Linked DNA regions of Homo sapiens: region 2 is linked to region 1. Evidence: promoter capture Hi-C in human tissues and cell types (Jung and others, 2019). All regions are on one chromosome and are shown on one strand. The core of a region is centred on a gene start or on the middle of the fragment in contact, and the rest is flanking DNA. Distances in the headings are between cores, read along the strand shown.

Evidence for each region. Contacts are between HindIII fragments. The study calls those that stand out against the background at their distance.
Region 2: a fragment that was not itself captured here is called in contact with the fragment with the promoter of TLR9 in region 1 in 2 of the 25 tissues and cell types used here (adrenal gland and liver).

What each region holds. Positions count from the first base shown.
Region 1 is chr3:52,223,530-52,229,674 of GRCh38, reverse strand. It overlaps TLR9 (toll like receptor 9), which reads left to right and starts at 4,030. Exons shown (of 2, transcript NM_017442.4): 1 at 4,030-4,148; 2 at 5,363-6,145. The coding sequence starts at 4,146. It overlaps TWF2 (twinfilin actin binding protein 2), which reads left to right. Exons shown (of 9, transcript NM_007284.4): 8 at 1-14; 9 at 474-1,063. The coding sequence ends at 641. RefSeq lists enhancers at 2,897-3,396, 3,551-3,640, 3,397-3,898, 4,151-4,250. The HindIII fragment of the contact is 19,187 bases long and covers 1-6,145 here.
Region 2 is chr3:52,181,517-52,188,084 of GRCh38, reverse strand. No RefSeq gene overlaps it. Among named protein-coding and RNA genes, the nearest start is that of ALAS1, 13 kb to the left of the region's middle. RefSeq lists an enhancer at 2,731-3,566. The HindIII fragment of the contact is 5,026 bases long and covers 1,988-6,568 here.

The sequences.
Region 1 (6,145 bases), core at 2,781-5,280:
AGATCGCCAAGAAAGTAGGCGCCCTCCCCAGGGCCTCACCTCCCCAGGCCCTATCACTCCAATCTCCATGTGGGGCGCTGGGGTCCTGAGATGACGGCAGAGCAGGAATCGTTGCTGTCGTGTTGATCATAGGGCATCTGAGGCCCAAGGAGCAACACGCATGGCCCAAGGCTGCCCAGCTGATCGGTGGCTCAGAAAAGTCCAAGTCCTGGCTACCATGTCATGTCCTTTCCCTGGGCCTGGAGACAGGGAGGAGGTGACCCCAGCGAGCAGAGTCCAAGGCATGCAGGGCAGCAGGCCCTAAGCTCTTGCTTTCCTGGGAGTGGCATTCCAGGTGGGGAATCAAGGGGAGACCTCAGGAGACCCCAGGGCTAGGATGTGAGAGTAAGGGGTGCCCCAGGAGTGGGGGCTACCAGGGGTGGTGTGTGTCAGAGCCCCTCCCATTGGGGTGACCACTGCCTTGCCCCATGCAGATTGAGATTGGCGATGGGGCAGAGCTGACGGCAGAGTTCCTCTACGACGAGGTGCACCCCAAGCAACACGCCTTCAAGCAGGCCTTCGCCAAGCCCAAGGGCCCAGGGGGCAAGCGGGGCCATAAGCGCCTCATCCGCGGCCCGGGTGAAAATGGGGATGACAGCTAGGAGGCTGGAGCAGGGCCGGCCACGTGTGGACTGTGGGGCTGCCCACCTTCCGCTCCCTGCCACCATCCTCCTTCCTGGGCTCCAGGAAAGTGTTTCTGGGAGGTCAGGAGGGCTGGCAGCTGAACGCACTTGCAGCGTCCGAGGGCCACCGGGCTGGCATTTTGTGACCCTTCCCTGTTGCTGTCCCTGCATCTCGTCTGTGTGCCCAGGGTGTCCGGGGACCCTGCCTGGCTGGCTTAAGGGGGCTGGGTCAGGGGCCTGGCATGAACCTGGCCTCCCGGGGAGCTGAGACTAGGGTCCCAGCACAGCCCAGAAACCTTTGGCCACAAGAAGTGGGGTCAGTCAGGGCTGGGGCAGGGGTCACTGCAGTTTGGGATGGTTGAATGCTGTATTTTCTAAAGAATAAAATATTTTTAAATCAAGACTTGTGCTTGGCCCTGAGAGACCGCCTCTGGCCCTGGGAATTGGGCAGTCTTGTGCATATAACTGTCCTTTCCCAACAGGGGAGAGGGGAGTGCCGGCCTGCGAGGTGGAGCCCCAGCACTCCACCTCCAGGTGTGTGGGAGAGGCTGTGCCTGTGAGTGGGCGTGCAGCCTCACGCGGGTCTCCCAGTCAACAGGAGCCCTGCTGGAGAGGCAGGCGCGCCTCCACTGTGACATGAGGGATCTGCATATGGTCATTTGCTGAGGCTGCCGTAACAAATTACCACCAACTTAGTGGCTTCGAAGAAACTCAAATGTATTCTCTTACAGTTCTGGAGGCTGGAAGACTGAGATGGGTCTCACAGGGCCAAAGTTGAGGTGTTGGCAGGGCTGGCTGTGTCTGGGCCCCTCAGAAGAACCCATCTCCTGGCCTTTTCTGGCTGTATTCCTTGGCTTGGGGCCCCTTCCTCCACCTTCAAAGCCAGAGGTGACATCTCTGATTCTGCTTTCCTCAGCCTCTGGGCTCCCATGGCCTTTTGTAGTCGAATCTCCCTCTGTCTCCATTTCATAAGGGACATTGTAATTGCATTCACCCTCCCTGCCCCCACCACCTACCCCTGTCAAGATGGGTAACTTAATCACATCTGCGAAGTCGTTTTTGCCACACTGTGGGGTGTTGGGGTCACGTGTTTGCAGGTTTGGGGAATTAGGACAAGGATCTCTGAGAGGGACTTTATGCAGCCTCCCACATGGGATAAGGGCTCCTCCTCGAAGGCTTCCCAGCCTCCCTGGGCTGAGGCCAGGACAAGTTTTTCTGTGGACATCGATATCGGTGTCTCCAAGCTGAGTGTGTCCATGTGCGTGGGTCTGTACCTGTGTGTGCAGACCCCTCTGTCAGCTTACTGGCCTCTCTGGTTTTCTGCCTCCAAAGAAGGCAGGGCCACTGCTGGGTATGGGGGTCTGGGTCCCTGGTCCAAGGGACTCTGGGAAAGTCTCAGGCTTGGGGCTCCACAGGAGCCCGAGCTTTGGTGTATCCCTCTGAGAGGTGGATGGAGGGAATGAATGCAGGTGCCTTCCACCCCAGGCAGGCAGGAGTGGAAGCATGGGGTTGATGCCTGCAGCCCAGCTACTGAGTGGGCACTGCTCTCCTTCCTGGCTCAGGGCAACATTCTATCCCTGGCGCCTTTCTGAGCCCCTGCTCAAGCCCCTAGAATTGTAGAGAGGAGAGCCAGACTAGCTAAGACCCAGAGGAGGCTTGTCCTTGCCCAGCCGAAACATTGGCTCCCAGGTGGGCAGGAAGACGATGCCATCGCCCCCTGCTGCTGAGCCAGCCAGATGCCTGGCACTATGGAGCCTGCCTGCCATGATACCACCCAGAGTGGGCCTGGGGGGAGCAGGCTGGCAGATGTGCAGCCTTGCCTCCTCCCAGCAGCAACAATTCATTAATTCATTCATTCAGCCTTCACTCAGAAATACCCTCTCTGTGCCTGCCCAGAGCTGACTGCTGGGTGTACATAATTCAGCAGATATCAAGCACTTACTATGTGCTGGGCACTGTACTGGATCCTGGGGATGCAGATAAAAGATCACTGCCCTTAAGAAGCTGACATTCCAGCAGGGGAATAAGACGATATACAATAAACCATGAAAGATCAATGATCCGGTGTGCTAGCAGTTAAAAAATGTTAGGACAAAGAGAAACATAGACCAGGCAAAGGAGCTCAGGAGTGCCAGATCTGGGGTGGGAGGTTTGTAAGAAGGCTGGATGGCCCTGTTGAGAGGGTGACATGGGAGCAGAGACATAATGGAGGCAAAGGAGGGGTCATATGAGACTTGGGGGAGTTTTCAGGCAGAGGGAACAGCACATCCCAAGGCCCTGAGGCAGGAGAATGCCCAGGGGCTACACAGTCAACTGCAAGCAGGCCAGTGGGCCTGGAGAGCACTCAGGGGAACAGCGGGTGGCAGGTCCCATAGGGCCTTGTTGGCCATCTGTGGACTGTGGCTTTGACTCCAGAGTCAGCCAGGGAGGGGTCTGAGCAGAGGAGGGACCTAGTGTGACTTAGGTTTGAACAGTTCCCTCTAGGGGCTGAATGTGACCAGCCCCTGGAGGGCAGAGAGCAGGGCAGGACAGCCAGAAGGGAGGTGGCACCTGCATGGGTCTAGGAGAGAGGATGGGGGCTGGTGGACATGGGGACGGTGGGCTGTGGGCACACCCTTCAGCATGGTGGACCCAGCAGAACTTGCTGAGGGGCCCGGGGTCACCCAAGGCTTTGGGCCCGAGGAATCTGAGTCTCCTCACCTAGATCAGAAGGAGAGTGGGAAGAACTGATGGGGAGGACTGGCTGGCGGCCCTGCTGGGCCAGCACACACCTGGCCTCTAGGAGCCCCATCTGGAGTGACGTGGTGTGTGCTCTGATGGGGCCCCAGGGGCTCTGGGAATGTGGAGGAGGAGGTCTTGTTTCCGGAAGATGTTGCAAGGCTGTGGTGAAGGCAGGTGCAGCCTAGCCTCCTGCTCAAGCTACACCCTGGCCCTCCACGCATGAGGCCCTGCAGAACTCTGGAGATGGTGCCTACAAGGGCAGAAAAGGACAAGTCGGCAGCCGCTGTCCTGAGGGCACCAGCTGTGGTGCAGGAGCCAAGACCTGAGGGTGGAAGTGTCCTCTTAGAATGGGGAGTGCCCAGCAAGGTGTACCCGCTACTGGTGCTATCCAGAATTCCCATCTCTCCCTGCTCTCTGCCTGAGCTCTGGGCCTTAGCTCCTCCCTGGGCTTGGTAGAGGACAGGTGTGAGGCCCTCATGGGATGTAGGCTGTCTGAGAGGGGAGTGGAAAGAGGAAGGGGTGAAGGAGCTGTCTGCCATTTGACTATGCAAATGGCCTTTGACTCATGGGACCCTGTCCTCCTCACTGGGGGCAGGGTGGAGTGGAGGGGGAGCTACTAGGCTGGTATAAAAATCTTACTTCCTCTATTCTCTGAGCCGCTGCTGCCCCTGTGGGAAGGGACCTCGAGTGTGAAGCATCCTTCCCTGTAGCTGCTGTCCAGTCTGCCCGCCAGACCCTCTGGAGAAGCCCCTGCCCCCCAGCATGGTAGGACAACAGCTCTCAGTCCCCTGGGGAAGGGGATATCCTGGGAAGGGGTGGGGAAAGAAGTGGGCTTGGCAGCTGCAAGCAACAGTGACGGGTTGTCACCCACATGGCCCTGGGGACACTCACTGAATCCTGAAGACTTCAGAGCCGAAGCCCTCTTCTTTTTTCTTTTTTTTTTTTTTTGAGACGGAGTTTCGCTCTTGTTGCCCAGGCTGGAGTGCAGTGGCTTGATCTCAGCTCACTGCAATCTCCACCTCCCGGGTTCAAGTGATTCTCCTGCCTCAGCCTCCCAAGTAGCTGGGATTATGGCTTGCGCCACCATGCCTGGCTAATTTTGTATTTTTAGTAGAGCCAGGGTTTCTCCATGTTGGTCAGGCTGGTCTTGAACTCCAGACCTCAGGTGATCTGCCCACTTCGGCTTCCCAAACTGCTGGGATTACAGGTGTGAGCCACCGTGCCCAGCCACTGAAGCCCTCTTCTGAGCAATGAGACCCAAACCCCCAGAGGGGACGAGGAGACTGAGGCACTGATGGAGCTGGGGCTGGAGCCTGGGTTTGGGTCTCACTGGGCCTGTAGCTTGGGGCTGGCTCTGTCTGGCACTTTGCAGGCCACCCCTCTCTCCATCTGTTCTGACCCATAAGGCAAAGGCTCTCGGGCTAGGTGAGGCAGGCAGAGAGTGATGGAGCTGTGCAGTGCCCTCTGGCCAGGGTCCCTGGGAGGCAGCCGGCCTGGGCCATAGTGGGAGACTCTCACACCTGCCTGAATCTTGGCCGAAGGAAAAGGAAGGGGTTGTGGGGTGGCTGGTGGAGGGCAGAGAGCGGATTTCAGGGCAGCTGGAGGGGAGGGAGCCAGCTGCCACCTTGCTCAGGAGCAGGAAGGGAAAGTCGGGGAGAGACCAGGGGGGGCCGTGGGCCACCTTGCCTGGCCTGGTATAGCCAGGGATTGGTTAAGTGAAAGCTGTAGATCATAAGTCTGGATTCTAGGTCTCAGTCCTGGTTCTGAAGCCTAATTCTGAGTCCAAGACTGGGTCTGAGACTGAGTTCAGGTTCCCCACAAGCCATGGGGGATGGGAATGGGGCTTGGCAGCCAGGAAGAACTTCTGCAGGTAGGGCTTGGAGAGAGGGGTTGGAAGATGCTAGAAGATGCCCATGAAGTGGAGTGGGTGGAGGTAGAGCTGGGGGCCGGCCACTCACACAGCCCTCCCACCCCCACAGGGTTTCTGCCGCAGCGCCCTGCACCCGCTGTCTCTCCTGGTGCAGGCCATCATGCTGGCCATGACCCTGGCCCTGGGTACCTTGCCTGCCTTCCTACCCTGTGAGCTCCAGCCCCACGGCCTGGTGAACTGCAACTGGCTGTTCCTGAAGTCTGTGCCCCACTTCTCCATGGCAGCACCCCGTGGCAATGTCACCAGCCTTTCCTTGTCCTCCAACCGCATCCACCACCTCCATGATTCTGACTTTGCCCACCTGCCCAGCCTGCGGCATCTCAACCTCAAGTGGAACTGCCCGCCGGTTGGCCTCAGCCCCATGCACTTCCCCTGCCACATGACCATCGAGCCCAGCACCTTCTTGGCTGTGCCCACCCTGGAAGAGCTAAACCTGAGCTACAACAACATCATGACTGTGCCTGCGCTGCCCAAATCCCTCATATCCCTGTCCCTCAGCCATACCAACATCCTGATGCTAGACTCTGCCAGCCTCGCCGGCCTGCATGCCCTGCGCTTCCTATTCATGGACGGCAACTGTTATTACAAGAACCCCTGCAGGCAGGCACTGGAGGTGGCCCCGGGTGCCCTCCTTGGCCTGGGCAACCTCACCCACCTGTCACTCAAGTACAACAACCTCACTGTGGTGCCCCGCAACCTGCCTTCCAGCCTGGAGTATCTGCTGTTGTCCTACAACCGCATCGTCAAACTGGCGCCTGAGGACCTGGCCAATCTGACCGCCCTGCGTGTGCTCGATGTGGGCGGAAATTGCCGCCGCTGCGACCACGCTCCC
Region 2 (6,568 bases), core at 3,251-5,750, 42 kb after region 1:
GCACTTTGAATTTTAATGGTTTTTTAAATAACAAAAGCTTATTTATTTGAATAGATATTTGCATATGATAATGCAAATAGTGTAACAGAGTAAAAGAGATTTCCCTTATCCAGGTCTCTTTCCATACACAACCACTGCTCCTGAGTTCTCATAGGTCTTTTCAGAAAGATTCTACTTATTCATTCAACATTTATCAGTTGCTCACCTACTACAAGTCCAGCACTGAACATATAAAAAAGTCTTTCTTGTTTGCTCCTTGCTTTTTGCATTGAATACTACACCTTGAAGAGGGCTGCATCCTTTTTGACAGCCGCATAGTATTCCGCTGTGCTGATGCACCATGATTCACTTGTCTAGCCTCTTACTGTTCATTTGGTAGTTTCCAATGGGTTACTCCTATCAGTGTCCTTGAACCTGCTTCCTTATGTGGGGTGAGGACTTCTGTGGGGTATTTAGAAACAAAACGCAGCCTGGTCAACATGGTGAAACCGTGTCTCTACTAAAAATACAAAAATTAGCCAGGCATGATGGTAGTCGCCTATAATCCCAGCTACTCTGGAGGCTGAGGCAGGAGAATTGCTTGAACCCGGGTGGCGGAAGTTGCAGTGAGCCGAGATCACGCCATTGTGCTCCAGCCTGGGTGACAGAGTGAAACTCCTCCATCTCAAAAAAAAAAAAAGAAGAAACAAAACCACCAGGTCAAATGTCAGAATCTTTTTTTTTTTTTTGAGACGGAGTCTCTCTCTGTTGCCCAGGCTGGAGTGTAGTAGCACGATCTCGGCTCACTGCAAGCTCCGCCTCCCGGGTTCACACCATTCTCCTGCCTCAGCTTCCCGAGCAGCTGGGACTACAGGCGCCCCACACCATGCCCAGCTAATTATTTTTTGTGTGTGTATTTTTAGTAGAGACGGGGTTTTACCACGTTAGCCAGGATGGTCTTGATCTCCTGACCTCGTGATCCCCGTCTCGGCCTCCCAAAGTGCTGGGATTACAGGGGTGAGCCACCGCGCCCGGCCAGGTCAGAATCTTTTATTCCAACTTTATGTTTTTTTTTCTTTTTCTCTCCTCTTGAATTGAGTGTGTTCTTGTGAGTGGCCTCAGATCCTTGATGGAGTGAGGCAGCTTCCAGGAAATGGATCAATAGGCTTTTTTTATTCAGCAAATACTTACTGTGTACCTACTGTTTGCCTAGTGTTGAACTAGGTTCCGGGATGGCAGCTATGAACAAGGTAGATGTAGTCCCTATTCTCGCGGAGTGGACACTTTGGTGGGGGAGACAGATGTCCAGAAGGACACGCCATCCAGACACATAATCTTGTGAGGGTGAGAGCTCACATGGTGCTCTGAGTGACAAGGACAGTGGCTGCTCTGTTTGGAGGCTTGGAGAGGCCTCTCTGAGGAGAGGATGTTTAGGGTGAGTCCTGAAGGAGAAGGAGCCAAGCTGGCGATGATTTGGGGTGGAGGAGGCCAGGAGCTGACCAGTGCCCCAGGCTGGGGGATCTAGTGCAACACTCTTGGTCACCTCCAGCTCTGGCCACTATGCTTTGGAATATGGGAGGGTTGGAAATAATCACCCATCCATGCCCAGTGCCAAGGAGGTGCTGGATAGATCTAATTATGATTACTATTATCATGACTGAAATGTGAGCAAGGAGGCATGGCAGAGAAGTTGGGGGGATATGGGGAGCCTTGGAAGCTGGGCTCCAGGCCCCCTTGGGAGGGGGCAATGCGGAGGAGCTGGAAGGCCATAGTCCTCCAAGCCTTCAGGGAACTTACATTATCTGGTGTAGCTGGTGGGAAGGGGGCATGGGGGCAGCTAAGGCAATCTGGGCCCAACTGAGGGGGCCCTGAGAACCATCCAAGGGATGGGTCTTGTTCTGTAGGCTTTGGGATTAGAAGACAGCTCTGAAGCCTTGGGACTCAACCCCGACTCATTAGGTGCCAGATCCAGCCTGGGGTTGGGGGAAGGCAGCCACAGTGTTTACCCAATCTCCAAAGCCCATCCAGCTTGATGCAGTGGCCTGGTTGTGACACCCCTCAGTGCTTCCCCCTAGCTAACGGCCATCAGCCCACTCAGCCTCCAGGTTCCTCTTTGCTGAGCTACTCACACCGGGGTCCACTGGGACTGTGCCTTCATTTCTCTGACCTGGGGAGTTGGAGAAGTTCAGCAGGGCTGGTGGCTCACAAGAGGTACCCAATGAGCATTTGTTGAATGAATGAATGAACATATGAATAAATGCATGAATGAATGGAGTGGGTAAATAAATGAGGATTATCTGTGAACTATGTGCAAGTGAGTGTGTGTGGGTGGGTCCTTAGGCCCCAGAGATAGGGCCGTTTGTGGGCCCAGAGATGGGGCCATTTGTGGGCAGGTTGTGTCAGCAAAGAGGTGAGTGTGGAAAGCTAGGGTCAGATGGCTGGTCAGCAGATGGCCTGGAGAAGGCCAGGGGAAATGGAGCAAGGCCATTTACTAGGGGCCCAGTTGAGCATCTTCAGGAGCCTTCCTTGGGGAGATCTGTAAGTGTCCATGTCCCGACACTCTGCCACTCCACTGCCACCCATGCATACGCAAGCTCCCATGGGCCCTCCCGGGTGTCTATGTCATCCTCTCCAATGGCTCTCCCTAAGCTCACCCTGGGATAGGCCACCTCTGATCTCAGCCTGGTCTGTGGACGGTGTGGTCAGGAGTCAACTGAAGCCCCTTGAAGCTCAGCTGGGGTGGAGGCTGCAGTCAGACCCTCGTTCCCCCTCCTGGTCCCTCTCCCGCTCTCTTCCTTGACCACCACCTCAGAAGATGACCATAGCTGTGCAGCAGAAGGGCTCTCACTCTATATTTGTGTAACAACATCTAGAAAATAGTTTTCCACAGCCTGCCTGTGTCTTAGCAGACAGAAGACTGCTGGCCACTCTGAAGTGACATTTCAAGTTTGGAAGTTCTTAGGGCCTAGTGTCTGGCAGCGTGGTCTGCTGGTCACATTCCTACGTGCACACCCTGAAGGTCTCTCAAATACATGCAGAATCCCAGGCCCACAGCTGCCCAGGGTCACAAACACCCTTTCACACATGGCCACATGGCCAACCACTCTGGTCATAGGGATAGCAGCACCTTGTGACAGTTAGATACATGGTGTAGTCACAGCGTGCCTCGGGGGCTGTGACCTTGTCACAGAGGCACACATGTGCAGCCATGGTGTGCCATGATTGGGACGTCATCATACATAGGGTCACACACACGGGCTGAGCTGTGCAGGGCCGCAGGGTTGCTCTGCTTCACCCCTCACCTCCACCTCCCTACCGCAAGTGCAGCCTGGCTCCCTGGGATCGTGATCCCTTCCCCTGCGCTCATTCCTGATGAAGTCAGGACTATCAAGAGCCCCTGACTGGCCCTCCCTCTGCCTGCCTCCTCTGTGGCCATCCTGCTCAGGTCTGTCCCGATGGCTCTGTACACCCCTGAGAACTATTAAACTGACCAGAGCGTGGACCAGGGAGATCCCAAGGGCATGAGAGCCAAGCTGTGTGACCATAACAGTCATGTCTTGTTTCTGGACCTCAGATTCTCCACCTGTTTTTAAAAAAAATGTTATTGATGTATAATAGTTGTACATATTCTCCATCTGTTAATACAGGCATAGACCTGGTGGTTTCAAGGCTCTTCTGGCACCCGTGATGAGGAAAGCTGTGATTCTGTGGCCCCTCTGGCATTTCCTGGACCTTCGGGCTTCTGAGTCTATTTGAACTTCATGGCCAGGTGCCTCTCACTAATGAAAGGGCCTCCACTGAGATTTCCTTGGGAACAAAGGAGAGCTCAGTTGTTCTTGAGGCCTCAAAGGGGCCCCTGAGGCAGGCCTGATGCCCGGCTGTGTGCAAGGACCAGAGGAGTGGCTGCCCAGCCTGGAGGCAGGTGCTGGCTGGACTGACCTCCTGGGACCCACTTAAGCTTTCTACAAACAACACATCATCTGGGCTGAGTGGGGGGTTCTCGGGGCAAAAAAAAAAAAAAAAGTCTTCTACGGAAGCTGCCTTGTGACTTGGCCCTGAGCTCAGGCAGGGTGGGGACCCTGAGCACCAGAGAGGTCATTGTTCCGTGAAAGCCAAGGCGGCAACCCCTCCCTCTTCCCCTTCTTGTGCTTGGAACCTCCAGACCCCTGGACTCCCAGGGGAGCCCAGGGAGTCAGTGTATGAGGTGCTGAAGCCAAGTCCTTCCAGAGCTTGGGGGAAGGTCAGTTGGTTTATAAATCACCTGAATTTCATCAGGGTCACCATGGGGGAGCTTCATGCATTTTTCAAAGGGCAGTTGTTGGGTGGTCACTCTGTGTTAGGCGCAGTGTAGGAGCCTGGAGAAATAAACCAAAATGTACCTGAAGTAGCATTTTTCAGTGTGGTCTATGTTCATGAAGTGGTCTCTGGAAAAAATATTCCATAGTCAAGTAAGTTAAGAAAGGGTATTATATAATTCACTTGGCCTGAGCAAAGGTGACCTGGTTTCTTTTTCGTGGGATTTGGAGAAGCTTTAAAAGGCAGTGTGTTTAGGCTGGGCTTGGTGGCTCAAGCCTGTAATCCCAGCGCTTTGGGAGGCCGAGGTGGGTGGATCGCCTAAGGTCAGGAGTTCAAGACCAGCCTGGCCAACATGGTGAAACCCATCTCTACTAAAAATACAAAAATTAGCTGAGCATGTGATGGCGGGCGCCTGTAATCCCAGCTACTCAGGAGGCTGAGGCAGGAGAATCGCTTGAACCTGGGAGGCAGAGGTTGCAGTGAGCCAAGATGGCGCTACTGTACTCCAGCCTGGGTGACAGAGCAAGACTCAGTCTCAAAAAAGAGAGAAAAAACAAAAAAAAAGCTGTGTGTTGAGAGAACTTAGGGGGTGTGAGTGCAGGAGCCTCATTTCCCACATGCAGCTGACCACAGAACTCATTCTGCTCATAGCAGCTATCTGGTGGGGTCTGGTGGGGTTGGAGTTCTCCAGGAGCCCTGCAGCAAGGCTGCTGGAGGGGTATAAGCCATCCCTGGAGGGCTCCTGTGACGCCATCTCTGTGCCCTGCCCCTGGTGTCCTGATTTAGCAGGGCGCCTGAGAATCTGCATTTCTGCAAGTTCTCAGGTGCTGCTGTTGGACCACACTTGGAAAACCACTGATCTATCTCAGAGCAGCCAGAGTGATCTTTTAAAAGCTAAGCTGCGTGAAGTTCCTTCTCTGCTCAAAGCACCCCCAGGGCTCACTGTCACTCAAGGTAGAAGCCAAGTTCTTACAGGAGTCCACAAGGCCCACCGACCTCTTTGACATTCACTCACAACTCACTTTTCTGTCCCTTAAACCCACCCTGCAAATCCTCAAGAGCACCTCAGGCCTTTGCTCCCTTCTGCCCATAATGGTCCTGCCCCAGATGTTGGTGGGGCAACCTGTTCCCATCCCCCAATTCCTCCACCCCTACTCTTGTACCCCTGCCTGCCCTGGCAGGGCAGCCTGTTGGTCACATTCATAGATGCACGCCCTGAATATCTCTCAGATACACATAATCTCAGGCCCACAGGTGCCCAGAGTCACAAACACCTAAGCAGCTGGGCTCTCACACAGGAGGACACAGAGGGGGCTTTCTGGTCCCATATACATCTAGCACCTCGGGAAGGGGTTGAGAGGGAGCTGAGGTGTCCAGGCTGGGGCACAGGGGAGTGACTCTGTGGGCAGCTGTGTGCTCTGTCACTGGTTCCATGAACCTTATCAGCGCTGCCCTCATCCTAACCCCGGAGCACTCTGTGTTCTTGATGCATCTGCACAGAGGTCACGGCAGCACAGATGAACTTAGCTCACCCAGCTGCCCACAGTGACCCCGATAAGCTTGCAAGGCATCCTGTGGCAGAAACCAGAAGGTTCTGAGTTGGGCAGGAAATAGGGCCAAGCCTGTCTTCTCCACCCCAACCTCCATTGGCCCTGACCTGGCTTGGGGATGACCCTGGTGGGTAGCTGGGGGGGAAAGGTTTAGCTTAGGCCTGTCTGACTGCCAGATGCATGGGTGTTATGGAGAGGGGATGGGGGAATGTCAGACTTGGCTCTGACCTTCTCCTCTGTTGAGTGGGGAATGGCTGCCTATAATCTTCACTGGGGTCCCTGGGGCCTGTCTGATTCTATGTCCTGACCCCTCTGCCCTGTGGGTGGGTGTGCTGGTGGCATACAGAGTCTGCCACCCCATCGAGCCAAGGCTGTGGGTCTGAGTAGCCTTAGGTGCAGAGGCTGTCTGCGAATTTGCACATGATGTCAGTGGTGGCCTTGCTCAACATTCCCAAGGAATTTTCTGACTAGCAAAGCTTTGATTTTGGCAGCTCTTCTGCCCAGGAAGCTGACGTTATGCCCTGAGCTCAGCTCTGCTGAGCAGGTGAGTGCAGGCTGAGGCCCCTGAGTCCCCTGTCCTGGCCCTCCTGGGTGGATTCCATGGGTGGTCCTTTGCCTCCTGTGCGTGTGTGAGTATGTGGACACATGCAGGGAAAGTCTGCCAGCCTGAGCTCCCTCAGCCTCCCTTAGCCTGCCCTTCTTTTTAAAGCTACCATTTATTGAGAGTTTACCATGTTCTAGGC